Regions from separate parts of the Homo sapiens genome. Here all the other regions are linked to region 2. Evidence: promoter capture Hi-C in human tissues and cell types (Jung and others, 2019). All regions are on one chromosome and are shown on one strand. The core of a region is centred on a gene start or on the middle of the fragment in contact, and the rest is flanking DNA. Distances in the headings are between cores, read along the strand shown. Region 1 has its middle 11 kb from the start of PDCL. Region 2 holds the start of CRB2 (crumbs cell polarity complex component 2). Region 3 has its middle 34 kb from the start of NEK6.

Region 1 (4,196 bases), core at 1,412-3,911, 520 kb before region 2:
GGAGCTCTGGTTTCTGGATCTCCATGTCCCGCTTCACTAGCTTCTGGGGTGGCTTGGGGTCCGGGTTGTGGCCACAAGGATGGCCGGGGGTCTGGCAGGAATGGGAAGCATCCAGAACGAGAAGGAGCCCATGCAAAGCTGAACGGCCACCTGGCCCCCTACCTGGACAGAGTGAGGAGCCTGGAGACTGAGAACCAGAGGCTGGAGAGCAAAATCTGAGAGCATCTGGAGAAGAAGGGACCTCAGGCCAGAGACTGGGGCCTTTACTTCAAGACCATCGGGGGCCTGAGGGCTCAGATCTTCACAAATACTGTGGACAATGCCAGCATCATTCTGCAGATCGACAATGCCCGTCTTGCTGCTGGTTACTTTAGAGTCAAATATGAGACAGAGCTGGCCATACGCCAGTCTGTGCAGAGTGACATCCATGGGCTCCACAAGGTCACTGATGACACCAGTGTCACTCAGCTGCAGCTGGAGACAGAGATCGAGGCTCTCAAGGAGGAGCTGCTCTTCATGAAGAACCACAAAGAGAAAGTAAAAGGCCTGCAAGCCCAGGTTGCAGCTCTGGGTTGACTGTGGAGGTAGATGCCCCCAAATCTCTGAACCTCACCAAGATCATGGCAGACATCTGGGCCCAATACAGTGAACGGCCTCAGAAGAACCAAAAGGAGCTAGACAAGTAGTGGTCCCAGCAGATTGAGGAGAGCACCACAGTGGTCATGATGCAGTCCGCCGAGGTCGGAGCTGCTGAGATGACACTCACGGAGCTGAGATGTACAGTCCAGTCCTTGGAGATCAACCTGGACTCAATGAGAAATCTGAAGGCCAGGTTGGAGAACAGCCTGAGGGAGGTGGAGGGCCACTATGCCCTGCAGATGGAGCAGCTCAACGGGATCCTGCTGCACCTGGAGTCAGAGCTGGCACAGGGTATAGGGGCAGTGCCAGGCCCAGGAGTACGAAGCCCTGCTGAACATCAAGGTCAAGCTGGAGGCTGAGATTGCCACCTACTGCCGCCTGCTGGAAGATGGCAAGGACTTCAATCTTGGTGATGCCCTGGACAGCAGGAATTCCATGCAAAACATCCAAAAGACCACCACCCCCCAGATTGTGGATGGCAAAGTGGTGTCTGAGACCAATGACACCAAAATTCTGAGACATTAAGCCAGCAGAAGCAGGGTACTCTTTGGGGAGCAGGAGGGCAATAAAAAGTTCAGAGGTCAAAAAATACACACAGACACACAGACACACACACACACACACACACAAACACACAAATCCCTGACTCCATGTCTTCCATCCTGGACACACTGGTGCAAGATGTGGGCTCTCAAGGCCTTGACTAGCTTCATCCCTGTGGCTTTGCAGGGTGCAGCCCCTGTGGCTACTCCCCTACCAGCTGGAGATGGGCACCTGTGACTTTTCCAGGCTCAGGTTGCAAGTTGCAGGTAGCTCTACCATTCTCAGGTCTACAGAATGGCAGTCACTTCCCATAGCTCCACAAGACAGTGACCCAGTGGGGACTCTGTGTGGGGCCTCCAACCTCACATTTCCCCTTGGCATTGACGTAGTGAGTAACTCTTTGGGGACTCTGCCCTGCAGCTGGTTTCTGTCTGGGCACCTAGGCTTTTCCATAAATCCTCTGAAACCTAGGGGGAAGCTGCCAAGCTTCGTTCACTCTTGATTCCATGTGCCTGCAGACTTAACACTTAGAAGCTACCAAGGCTTAGGGCAACTTGCACTCTCCAAAGTGGCAGATGGAACCATAGCTGGGGCCCTTTGAGCCAAGACTGGAGCTGGAGCAGCCCACCGAGGTGGTGCAGGGCAGTAGTGTGCAGGGCAGCAGCACCCTGGCCTCGCCACGGAAACCATTCATTCCTCCTTGACCTCTGGGCTGTGACTCGAGGGGCTGCCTCAAACATCTCTGAAATGCAATACAGGTCTTTCTCCCATTTTCTTGGATAGTAGCACTTGGCTCCCTTTTAATCATGCTCATTTCTCTAGCAAGTGGTAGTTCTGCAGCCTGCTTGGATTCTTTCTCTTCCACAGGGAACAGTCTGCAAATTTTCCAAACTTTTCTACTCTGCTTCCCTTTTAAATATAACTTCCAACTTTAAGTCATTCCTTTGCTCCCGCATCTCATCATAGGCTTTTAGAAGAAACCATGCTACATCTTGAATGCTTTGCTGCTTAGAAATTTCTTCCACCAGATACCCTAAGTCATCATTCTGAAGTTCAAACTTCTACAGATCCCTAGGATGTGAACACCATGCAGCCAAGTCTTTTCTAGGGCATAACGGGGTTGACCTTTACTCCAGCTTTCAATAACTTCCTTATTTCCATCTGAGACCTCATCAGTCTGGCCTTCACTATCCACATTTCTATTAGCAATTTGGTCACAACCACTTAACAAGTCTCTAAGAAGTTCCAAAATTTCCCTTGTCTTCCTGTCTTCTTCTGAGCTCTCCAAACTCTTCTAACCTCAGCCTGTTACCCAGTTCCAAAGCCACTTTCACATTTTCAGGTATCTTTATAGCAATGCCACACTCCTCAGTACCAATGTTCTGTATTAGTCTGTTCTTGTGTTGTTCTACAAAGAAATAACGGAGTCTGGGTACTTTATAAAGAAAAGAGGTTTAATTTGGTTCACAGTTCTGCAGGCTGTACAGGCATGGCACCAACATCTGCTTAGTTTCTGTTGAGGGCCTCAAGAGGCTTACAATCATGGTGGAAAGCGAAGGGGAGCCAGTGTATCACATGGCAAGAGCAGGACCAAGGTGTGTGTGGGGTGCAGAAGTACCACACTCTTTTAAACAATCAGATCTAGCATGAACTGAGTGAGAACTCACTCATCAACCAGGGATGGTGCTAAGCCATTCTTGAGGGATCTGCCCCCATGATCCAATACATTCCACCAGGCCCCACCTTCAGCACGAGGCCACATTACAATATGAGATTTGGAGGGACAAACATCCAAGCCATTATCAGTAGCCTCCAGCCTCCAGCCAGCAAAAAAACTGATGTCCTCATTCCAAAGGGCATAAAGAACTGAATGAATTCTGCCAATAATCATGAGTGAGCTTGGAAGCGGATCCTTCCCCAGCTGGGCTGTGAGATGACTGCAGTGCCAGCCAACAGCTAGATTACAGCCTGTGAGAGACCCTGAAGCAGAGGACCTATTTAAGTCATATCCAGATTTCTGACCTACAGAAACTGAGGTGATACATTTTTTGGTAAGCCCCTAAGTTTTCCGGTAATTTGTTATACCAACAGATAATTAATACAAGAGTTATTCCAATTTTTATTTTCATTTTGTATCCAGTTTGGTAAACTGTATTTTTAAGGAATTTGTCCATTTCCAAGTTAAGACCTTATTATAGTCTTATTTATTAATTTCCTTCAGAGGTAGACAAAGTATACCAATTCATTCACTGAAAAAAAAAAAACTTCAGAAATAAAAACTTATGTCCACACAGAAACATGCATACAAATGTTCATAGCAGCTTTATTTGTAACAGCCAAAAATTTGAAACATTCCAAATGCCCTTCAATGAGTTAATAGCTAAAGACACCATTACCATGGTGTGTAGTATACATGTAGTATACCATGGTACCACGGATGTACCATGGCATATTACCCAGCAACATAAAGAAAAAAACTATTAATACATACAACCATTTGGATGAATTTCAAGGGAATTATGCTGAGTGAAAACAAAAAGCCAATCTCGAGGTTACATATGGTGTAATTCCAGTAATATAACATTCCCAAAATGACAAAATTACAAAGATGGAGAACAGATTAGTGGTTGCCAGGGTTTAGGGATGGGAGAATGGGGATAAGCAAGGAAAATGGATGTGATATAAAGGGGTAGCATGAGGGATCACTGAGGAGATGGAACAGCTCTTGATAGTAGTGGTGGTTCCACAAATCTACATGTGAAAACTACATAGAACTTACACACACACGAACATGCACATGCATGCAAATGAGTGCATGGGAAAGCGGTGAAATCTGAATAAGCTCTGGATTGTAGGAATGTCAAGTTCCTGGTTTTAATATTATAATTAGGGGCTGGGCTTGGGTGGCTCACGGCTGAAATCCTAGCACTTTGGGAGGCTGAGGTGGGTGGAACCCTTGGGTTGAAGAGTTTGGGACCAGCCTGGGCAACATGGCAAAACCCCATCTCTACAAA
Region 2 (4,251 bases), core at 679-3,178:
GGGGGCCGGGCTGCAGAGGAGACTGGACCTGCGCCGGGTGACCTCCCCGCTCTGTGAAAGTGTGGGAGTTTGTGTCTGTGCATCCAGAGAACCAGAGGGTGGTGGTTGACTTGCCGTGCTCCCCCCAGCCCCCCATTGGGATTGCCTGGGTCTCTGGGGGATCACTGAGAAGCTGGATAAAGAGAGCTGGCACTGTCGCCTTGGCTCACTAACGCCACCATTTTACAGGTGAGGAGACTGAGGCCCAGAGAAGGAAGTCACGTGCTGAGGTCACCGGCTAATCAGTGGCTGAGCTGGGCTCGAACCCAGATCTCTTACGCTGTGAGGCCTCTGCTTTTCCTGTGGCATGGAGAGGGGCTTCTCCCACCTGGGGAGAGGGATCCTGTTGTATTGGAGAGGCAGGGGATTAAAGATGGACTGAGAGAGGTTAGTGTCCCAGAAACCAAGGGGCAATCCCTGCCCTGGAGAGAACAGGCCTCAAGGGCAGGGATGGGGCAGGGGCAGTGGATAAGGAGTCTACCCAGGCCTTTTTGGGTTCCCTCCTTTGGTCCCTGGGGACCCAGGGCTGTGGCACTTGCCCCGGGCTAGAGGGTCGGCCAGGGCCTGTGTGGTGCCCACTGCTCCCTCCCCTGCACTGCAGGGGACCCTTGCCCATCCCTCTAGCTCATCTGGACCTCCCTCAATGGCTCCTGCTGTCTTTCCAGGCTGTGTCCTCCCGTGTCAGGGACACATCCCAGAGCCCAGGGCCTGCGTGGGCTGTATCCACGGTTACTGAATAGGGACAAACAGGCATGTATTGGCAGGGGCCGGTGGCTCATTTCAGGAAAGTCCCTTCAGCAAGAGGATTCTCTCCCCACTGGGGCTGAGGGTGGTAGAAGAAAGGAATGTTGTTCTATGTTGTAGTGTCTCTGAGATGACCTGGCTTCCTGAACCAGGTCCCCCTGAAGAGCTCCTCCTGTCCACCCCAACAAGAGGCCAGCTGGAGAGCAAGCAAACATCGAGTGCAGCAGGAGACTATAAGGTTAGACAACAAGAAGGACTTCCTGGCAGGGGAGAGCAATGCTTGCTTGGTTAGAGCTGCCTTTCAGTAGAATGGGCTGCTTTGGATTGCAGTGAGGTCGCTGGAGTTGCAAACAGCAGAGCCAGAGATCAAGGTCAAGTGGAAGAAAGCTGGGAAAGGTTCAGTTTGGCTGGTGAAGGGTGGAGAGGGTAAAGGGAGGCAGGGACCACCGTGGTGCAGGGGTGAGGTGCCCTGCAGGGAGCTGATCCTGAGGCCGATGGTGGGAGGAGCTGTGTGTGGTCGGGTGGGACGGGGTGGGGACAGCAGGAGACACTGAGAAGGTGGCATGGCCAGGAGCTAGGGGCTGACCGAGTGTGGGGAGGGGGGAGTGGGGAGGGGGCGTTGGGCTGCCCGATGGGAGGTGCCTTGGCTCCGATGGGAGCACTGGGGAGCAGCAGGTGGGGGGACGAGCTGGGTGGGAGGGGCTGCAGCTTCCCAGCAGAGACAGGGTCTGGGAGGCGACTGGACTCGAAGGCCTGGGCTTGGGAGAGAGGCCCGGGCTGGAGAGGTGGGGAGGGGGATCCAGGAGAGGGGATAACTAAGGACTTGGGAGTAGCTGGCATCACCTGGTGAGACGAGAGTCCTGAACAGCCCCCTCTCCAAGGACAGAAATTTCTCCAAGGAGGCTGACCTGAGAGGTGGGAGGAGAGTGGGGCAGAGGGTCAGGAGGGAGAAACCAGTGGGTGCCAAGACCAGGTCAGCCCCACAGGCTAGGGGGCTTGAGGACTTGGGGCTGATGTCTAGGGACGTCCACGAGGTGGAGCAGCCCAGGAGGCCTGGGTGGGAGGAGGAGGCGGTGGCGGGGAGGGGAGGGAGGGGCTGGGCCTCTGTCCACAGCATTAGTGCTGGTTGGAGGGACGAGGGGGGTGCGGAGCCAGCCAGGCCGCCCTCCCGTTCTCACAGCAGCCGAGCAGAGCGCAGAGCGGGCTGCCATGGCGCTGGCCAGGCCTGGGACCCCGGACCCCCAGGCCCTGGCCTCTGTCCTGCTACTGCTGCTCTGGGCCCCTGCCCTTTCCCTCCTGGCTGGTGAGTTGGGGCCCATGTCTGGAGGGGCCTGGGAGAGGGTCTGTCCCCCAAGACAGATACCCCAAGCCTTGGCTGCTGGGGTGGTGGGTGGGCTGGTCCGCGTGGGTGCAGGCCTGAGCTGTGGGGTGCACAGGAGTGCGCGGCTGTGGCCCCCAGACTCTGTGGGGCTCCACGGAGGTGAGTGTGTTCTGAGGCTCGGGGCTGTTTCATGTTGAGGGGGGTTGTAAGTTTCGGGGTTGGGGGATCGGGGGCTGGGCATGATTTGGGGGAGCTGATGCGGGTGAGGGATGGGGTGCGTGTTTTGGGAGGTGCTGTGTTGCATCCTGTAAAGGGCTGGGGGACTTCTGGGTTTCTAGGGGCTGAGTTTGGGGAGTTGCAGGTGGCATAAGCCTCACCCCAGAGCTTGTTCTGTGTCGCATGCTGGGTTGTGGGGCACAGGTTGTGGGTGTGTTAGAGTTGGGAGGTGGATGAGCTGTCTGGGGTGAGCCGTGAGTTGTGTCCGAGGAGTTGGGTGTGGTGAGCTGTGTCCTAGCACACGCTGTGGGGTGTAGGTTGTCCAGGGTTGAACTAGGTCTTTGCTCTCAACATGAGGGGTGTGGGATGTGCACAGCCGACCCCAACTCGGGACTGAGTGGAGAAGCGTGAGGGAGACTCAGGGAGCTGGGTGCCTGCCCGCACCCCTCCATTTGTGCGGTAGCCCTGCCTGTGCTGAGGGCTGCTGGGGATGCTCTGGGTCCCTGTGGGGTGGCTGGGGATTTGGGAACATGTGTGTGTCCCCTGCTGCCCCCTCCCCAGCATTCCAAGGCCAATCTGAAAGGGCTCCCTGAAGCCAGACCACATTTGCCAAGCCCTTTTTGCTTTTGTCCAAGCTCTCGGAGCCTGGAATTCCTCCTGGGGGGTCCAAGGGAACGCTTGGTGTTAGTTACTATAGTTACAGGGGCCGGGCCTGGGAAGTCCCCTGCCCCCACCACCACAGGCTGGGGAGGGAGCCAAGGAGGGCCTGGGCTCTCCTGAGGCTGGGGGAGCCCTCCCTGCCCCAGAGCTCCACAGGCTGTAGGGTGTGGGGGCCAAGTGTCTCCCAGTCCCACCTGGGGACCCTCATGTTTCCCGCACTCACAAAGCTTTCATTTCCTATCCTCTCTATGGGGCCCTAGGGAGGATGAGGACCCCATTTTGCAGTGAAGGAAACCAAGGCTCAGAGAGGGACGGGGACTTATGAGCTGGGCTCTGCTGGCAGGCGACTTGGGCTCCATAGAGGGGTGGGGCATGGTGGCGGGGGGCGGGGTGGCTGCTCCTCTCTGTTCTCTGCATACAAAGCACGTGAGATCCCGGTCTGTGGATCGGTGCTCTGTCCCCTGCCCTGTGATGCTCACACACCCACACTCCGCACACCTGTGTGGCATGCCCAAGGGCACACAGCACCACAGGGACAGGTGCTACAGACACATGTGGATCTACCAGCACATGCACCTACCTACACACATGGCATGTGCCTGCACACCAATGTGCACACCCCAACACGCACATGTGGACATGTGTGCATTCACACTCAGTGTGCACTCACAGGGGACCTGGAGGCACAGAGTGGATGGAGGCTGTGGGGGGTCTGGACACTGGTGTGTACACTCAACCCATCAGGCCTGCTGGGTTGCCCAGGGGCAGCCTTTCCTCTGCCATTTCTGTGCTGGGAGCGCCATCCCTGGGGATCCCTAAAAGTTGGTGGGGTACACTGCAGGCATGACCATTTCTGCATGCTGGTACCCTAGACTGCCTGCCGGGAGGGGAGGGATTGGGGATTTTGTCACTTGAAAACCAATTTCCATCCTGGAGGGGATGGGGGCTTCTGGAGGCCATGGGCCCCTGGCTTTTCTCCCCACCCCTGCCAGGCCCTGAGCTGGGCCTCTCCATCCTGGGCCCAATTTGCCACAAAGGCCCGGCTGGTTGCCATGGAGAGGACCAAGCATCTTGGAGTACAATGGGGCACGTTGGGCTCTCATATCCACCCTCCCTTCCCCAAACACCCAGGGAGCCCAGCAGACAAAGGGGCAGTGAGTCCAGGCCCCAAGTCCGGCCCCTCCTCCAGCCAGAAGGGGGTGGGGGCCTGCAGGACAGAAGCAGAGATGGAGCAGAAAGCCACACACATTCAACCCAATGTCAGGATCCTT
Region 3 (4,563 bases), core at 295-2,794, 870 kb after region 2:
AGCCCTTCCTGGCACACTAGCAAAGTGCCTAGTACAGGGGAGGCATTCAGCAGGGTATCCATTCCTTCCCCTTCAGCATCTGTTGAAAATCAGGCTGGAGCCTCAAATATTGGAACCAGCCCTAAGGGGAATGAAGGCTCGTTCTGTGTCAAGACAGCTGCCCCAGGGTTCCACTCCTTAAGGAACAAAGGAGTGGGGACAGACTCCTTTCTGTGAGTAGAGGGGTGGTACTGCCTCCCACCTAGTGTCTCTGGGATTCCTTTTGGAGGCTGCTCACAGATGTCCTCCCACCTTGGCCTCCCCACTCCCATCTGCCCTTCCAGGTTCCCCGGCAGAGGTCCCATCAGTCAGTCCCCTCCCTCCAGCCCATGGTGGTGGCTCACCAGACGGAAGACAGTGGGTCCCTCAGGCCCTTGCTGGGCCTGCCCTATCCCAGGATCTGGGTCCCTAGCTTCATCTGTCACTTCAAAGCTTCCTGTCCCTCAGCCAGGGACTGAGGTAAATTCTAGGCGTTCTGGGCTCTCACTTTCCTCATGTTTGCATGTTCTTTGTGACGCGGTATCCAAGTCGCTGCACAGGTAGGAGGAGCCTGAGGGCTCATCCAGTCCAACCTCCTCCTATGCAGTTCAGATGGGAAAACTGAGGTTCAGAATAGAGACTTGCTGGAAGCATGAAAGTAATTGACAGGTTGGTAGGGGCACAGGGGGTGAAGCGTGTGACAAGCTGGGCCAAAGCTCCAGGGACACGGGTCCTACACTGGCACTTGCGTGGACATCCATGTTACCTGCACTCATGTGTAGTAAAGAGGTCATGCGTGTTTACAAACCATAGTACCACCACAGAGACCACAGGCCCAGCAAATGGGGCTCACACAGGCATGCACACACACACACGTATCCTTGATGGTAAACATGCCCACCCACCATTGTGCACACATGCGTGTATTTACACCCACATGCACACTCATCGGCACACAATCAGAGCCACACACCTGCACGTGCCCCCACAGAATCACACGTGTGTGCAGTCTCACCTATCTGCACTCTGCCATGGGCCCCATTACATACATGCATGCAAACAGATAACACACACGCCTATCAATAGCCAGGATGACTCACACACGAGGACACACATCATACCCTCACAGACTCGTGCATGGACCACCCTGCAGTCACAAAGCAGCATCCAGCATCCGACAATCTGCTGATGTCACTCCCCTGAGAGTAACCATGGCTCCATGCATAGGCAGAGGCAACTCAGCTCACAGGTGCCGCCTGTCCACATGCAGACACAGACACACACACACATACACACACACACACTCTGACAGTTCCCCAATGGCCAGCCTCCTCCACTGACTCCCCACAGCCAGGTGCTCTGACACCCTCCTTGGTGGGACCCTCTCTCTTCAAGGCGCCCAGAGCCACCTGGCTGTCCTTGGAACTAAGTGAGCACCCTGCCCACCCCCAGCCTTGTCCCCTAAACTGGGTGGTTTAGGTCTGAGGGGTGGGGAGAAGGCTGCCCAGAGTCCAAAGTTCAGGGGCCAACATCTTGTTTGCAGGCGCTGGTGGAAATTGCACAACCTGCCAGCTGGGTGACTTGGGCTTATTGTCTCTGAGTTCCCCTTGGCTGCAGGCCCAAGCCCAGCCAGTGACCTGTTTCTCTGGAAGAGGGTGGGGAAAGTGGTTCCTCCCTCCCCTGCCTGGGGAACTGGTGGCCCTCCCTGGGCACTGGTGGCTGGTCCCCAGCTATGTGTGCAACACACCTGACACTGAGATGCACAGAACTCAGCATCCAACCTGTCCTTTCCCAGATAGGAAACTGAAGCTCAGGGAAGGAAAGGCTTGCCCAGGGTCACCCAGCAAGGAGGCCCAGGAGGACTGGAACTCAGGCTCAGTTTCCTTTCTTTTCTTTTCTTTTTTTTTGTGATGGAGTCTCACTCTGTGGCCCAGGCTCGAGTGCAGTGGCGTGATCTTAGCTCACTGCAACCTCTACCTCCTGGGTTCAAGCGATTCTCCTGCCTCAGCTTCCTGAGTAGCTGGGATTATAGGCACGTGCCACCACACCCAGCTAATTTTTTCATATTTTTAGTAGAGGCAGGGTTTCACCATGTTAGCCGGTCTGGTCTCAAACTCCTGACCTCAGGTGATCTGCCCGCCTCGGCCCCTCAAAGTGCTGGGATTACAGGTGTGAGCTACCGCGCCCAGCTCAGTTTTCTTTCAAACCCTTTATCAAAAGAAATATAATCCAAAGCCAGACAGTACTAATGCAAATGAGCAGAGCTACCGTGGGTGCAAAAGGAAGGGACCCCAGAGCCCGTGAGTAGAGACCACTTTCCCTTTCCACACCTACCGTGGCTAAGTCAGTTAGTCAAAGGGTCACTGTGCCATATCACCAGATCATTGAGCTTAACAAATCTATCCCGACTTAAAACATTTTATTTATTTATTTATTTTTGAGACAGGGCCTTGCTCTTGTCACCCAGGCTGGAATGCAGTGGTGCAATCTCAACTCACTGCAGCCTCAACTTCCCGGACTCCACCCATCCTCCTGCCTCAGTCTCCCAGGTAGCCGGGACCACAGGCATGCACCACCACACCCGGCTAATTTTTGTATGTTTTGTAGAGATGGGGTTTCGCCATGTTGCCCAGGCTGGTCTCAAACCCCTGGTCTCAAGCGATCTGCTCACCTTGGCCTCCTGAAGTGCTAGGACTACAGGCATGAGCCACCCCAGTGAGCTTTTTTTCATTTTGTTTTAATTTGTAAAAGTTCCCACTGTGTGCATGAAATGAATTAGCAAGGCCATCATGGCTACGGGGGGTCAGGATCTGGGGCCTTCAGATCCCTCTCACCTCTGGGACCTGCAGCCCAGACTGGGCTTAGATCTCTATTCTGTTCCCCTCCAGTGGCAGCATCAGGGACATGGGGTAGAGACAAACTGAACATTCCTGAAAATCCAAGAAATCTTCTAAAGCTTTAAAAACCCATCCCATGCCTGCCTGTCTTTTCCCTCTCCCCTTCGCTGCCTTTCTGTATCTCTCCCTTCTTTCCTTTCTTCCTCCTGCCTGCCTACCTTTCTCAGTGCATCCAGTCAAAATCATGAGGCTCGAGGATGACAGTCACAGTGGCCCTTGTGAGGCTGGACCTGGGCGGCAGCCTGCTGCAATCAAAGATGGGTATGCACCGGGGCAGAGCAGAGGTATAGCTTAGCATGGACAAGAGGATTCAGGTTTCTCCTTGATGAGGCAGGGAGGCACAGATGCAGAAAGGAGGAAACCAGCTGGGTGCGGTGGCTCACGCGAGTAATCTCAGCACTTTGGGAGGCGGAGGCAGGCGGACCACCTGAGGTCAGGAGTTCAAGACCAGCCTGGCCAACATGGTGAAACACCGTCTCTACTAAAAAATACAAAAATTAGCCAGACATGGTGGTGTGCACCTGTAGTCCCAGCTACACAGGAGGCTGAGGAAGAAGAATTGCTTGAACCCGGGAGGCAGAGGTTGCAGTGAGCCGAGATTGTGACACTGTACTCCAGCCTAGGCAACAAGAGTGAGACTCTGTCTCAAAAAAAACAAAACAACAACAACAAAAAAAAAGCCAGGTGCAATGGCTCACACCTGTAATCCAAGCACTTTGGGAAGCCGAGGCGGGCGGATCACTTGACGTCAGGAGTTCAAGACCAGCCTGTCCAGCGTGGTGAAACCTGATCTCTACTAAAAAATACAAAAATTAGCCATGCGTGGTGGCGTGTGCCTATAATCCCAGATACTCAGGAGGCTGAGGCAGGAGAATCACTTGAACCCAGGAGGCAGAGGTTACAGTAAGTCGAGATCACACCACTGCACTCCAGCCTGGGTGACAGAGTAAGAATCCGTCTCAGAAAAAAAAAAAAAGGAGGAAACTGAAGAAGCCCATAGTGTTGGGCTGGAGTTGGAGCTCTCAGTGAGAACACATGGTGAGAATCTGTGTTTATGTGGAGAGAGAGAGAATATAGACAGAAAGGTGTGTCTATATATATACATGTATATGCACCTGCATGCATATGTGTATACATATATGCATATTTGATGTGTGTGTGTGTGTGTGTATTTTCAGCTCTGTTCACCAAGAAGGTATGGGAGCAGCAATGCTCTGGTAGCAATGAACATACCCAGTGCCAAGATCTTGTTTTCAAAATGCCATTTGGAGGAAGGCTGAGTCCTGGCTGGGAGAGAGGAAGAACAAGATGAACCTGGAACACCTTGTTGTGGCAAAAAGTCACTAAGCATTCAAAGCATAGTGTGGACATGTCAAAGGGACACAGGGGCCAGCTGGATGGGGCCACACCAAATCTGGTGTAATTGAAAAATCAAAATTAATAATGATAGCAATGAATGATAACCCACTGAATAAAATAGAAACCCCTGACTCCAACTGCTATAAACAAAAAAACGAATAAGTAACCGGACAGAAGAGAAAGCTTTTCCTGACAGTAGAATGTCAAATCATACAGAAAGAAGGAAAACCACCTTTGTCAAATATGATCATAATTATTATTTCAGGTAAGAAACATCGATGGAACCAGG

The links. Contacts are between HindIII fragments. The study calls those that stand out against the background at their distance.
Region 1: a contact is called between a fragment that was not itself captured here and the fragment with the promoter of CRB2 in region 2, in 1 of the 25 tissues and cell types used here (lymphoblastoid cells).
Region 3: a fragment that was not itself captured here is called in contact with the fragment with the promoter of CRB2 in region 2 in 1 of the 25 tissues and cell types used here (adrenal gland).

Annotation. Positions count from the first base shown.
Region 1 is chr9:122,837,664-122,841,859 of GRCh38, forward strand. It overlaps the pseudogene KRT18P67. Among named protein-coding and RNA genes, the nearest start is that of PDCL, 11 kb to the left of the region's middle. The HindIII fragment of the contact is 8,050 bases long and covers 1-4,196 here.
Region 2 is chr9:123,354,269-123,358,519 of GRCh38, forward strand. It overlaps CRB2 (crumbs cell polarity complex component 2), which reads left to right and starts at 1,929. Exons shown (of 13, transcript NM_173689.7): 1 at 1,929-2,086. The coding sequence starts at 1,993. RefSeq lists enhancers at 1-391, 60-229, 3,610-4,251. The HindIII fragment of the contact is 16,000 bases long and covers 1-4,164 here.
Region 3 is chr9:124,221,953-124,226,515 of GRCh38, forward strand. No RefSeq gene overlaps it. Among named protein-coding and RNA genes, the nearest start is that of NEK6, 34 kb to the right of the region's middle. The HindIII fragment of the contact is 4,341 bases long and covers 1-3,715 here.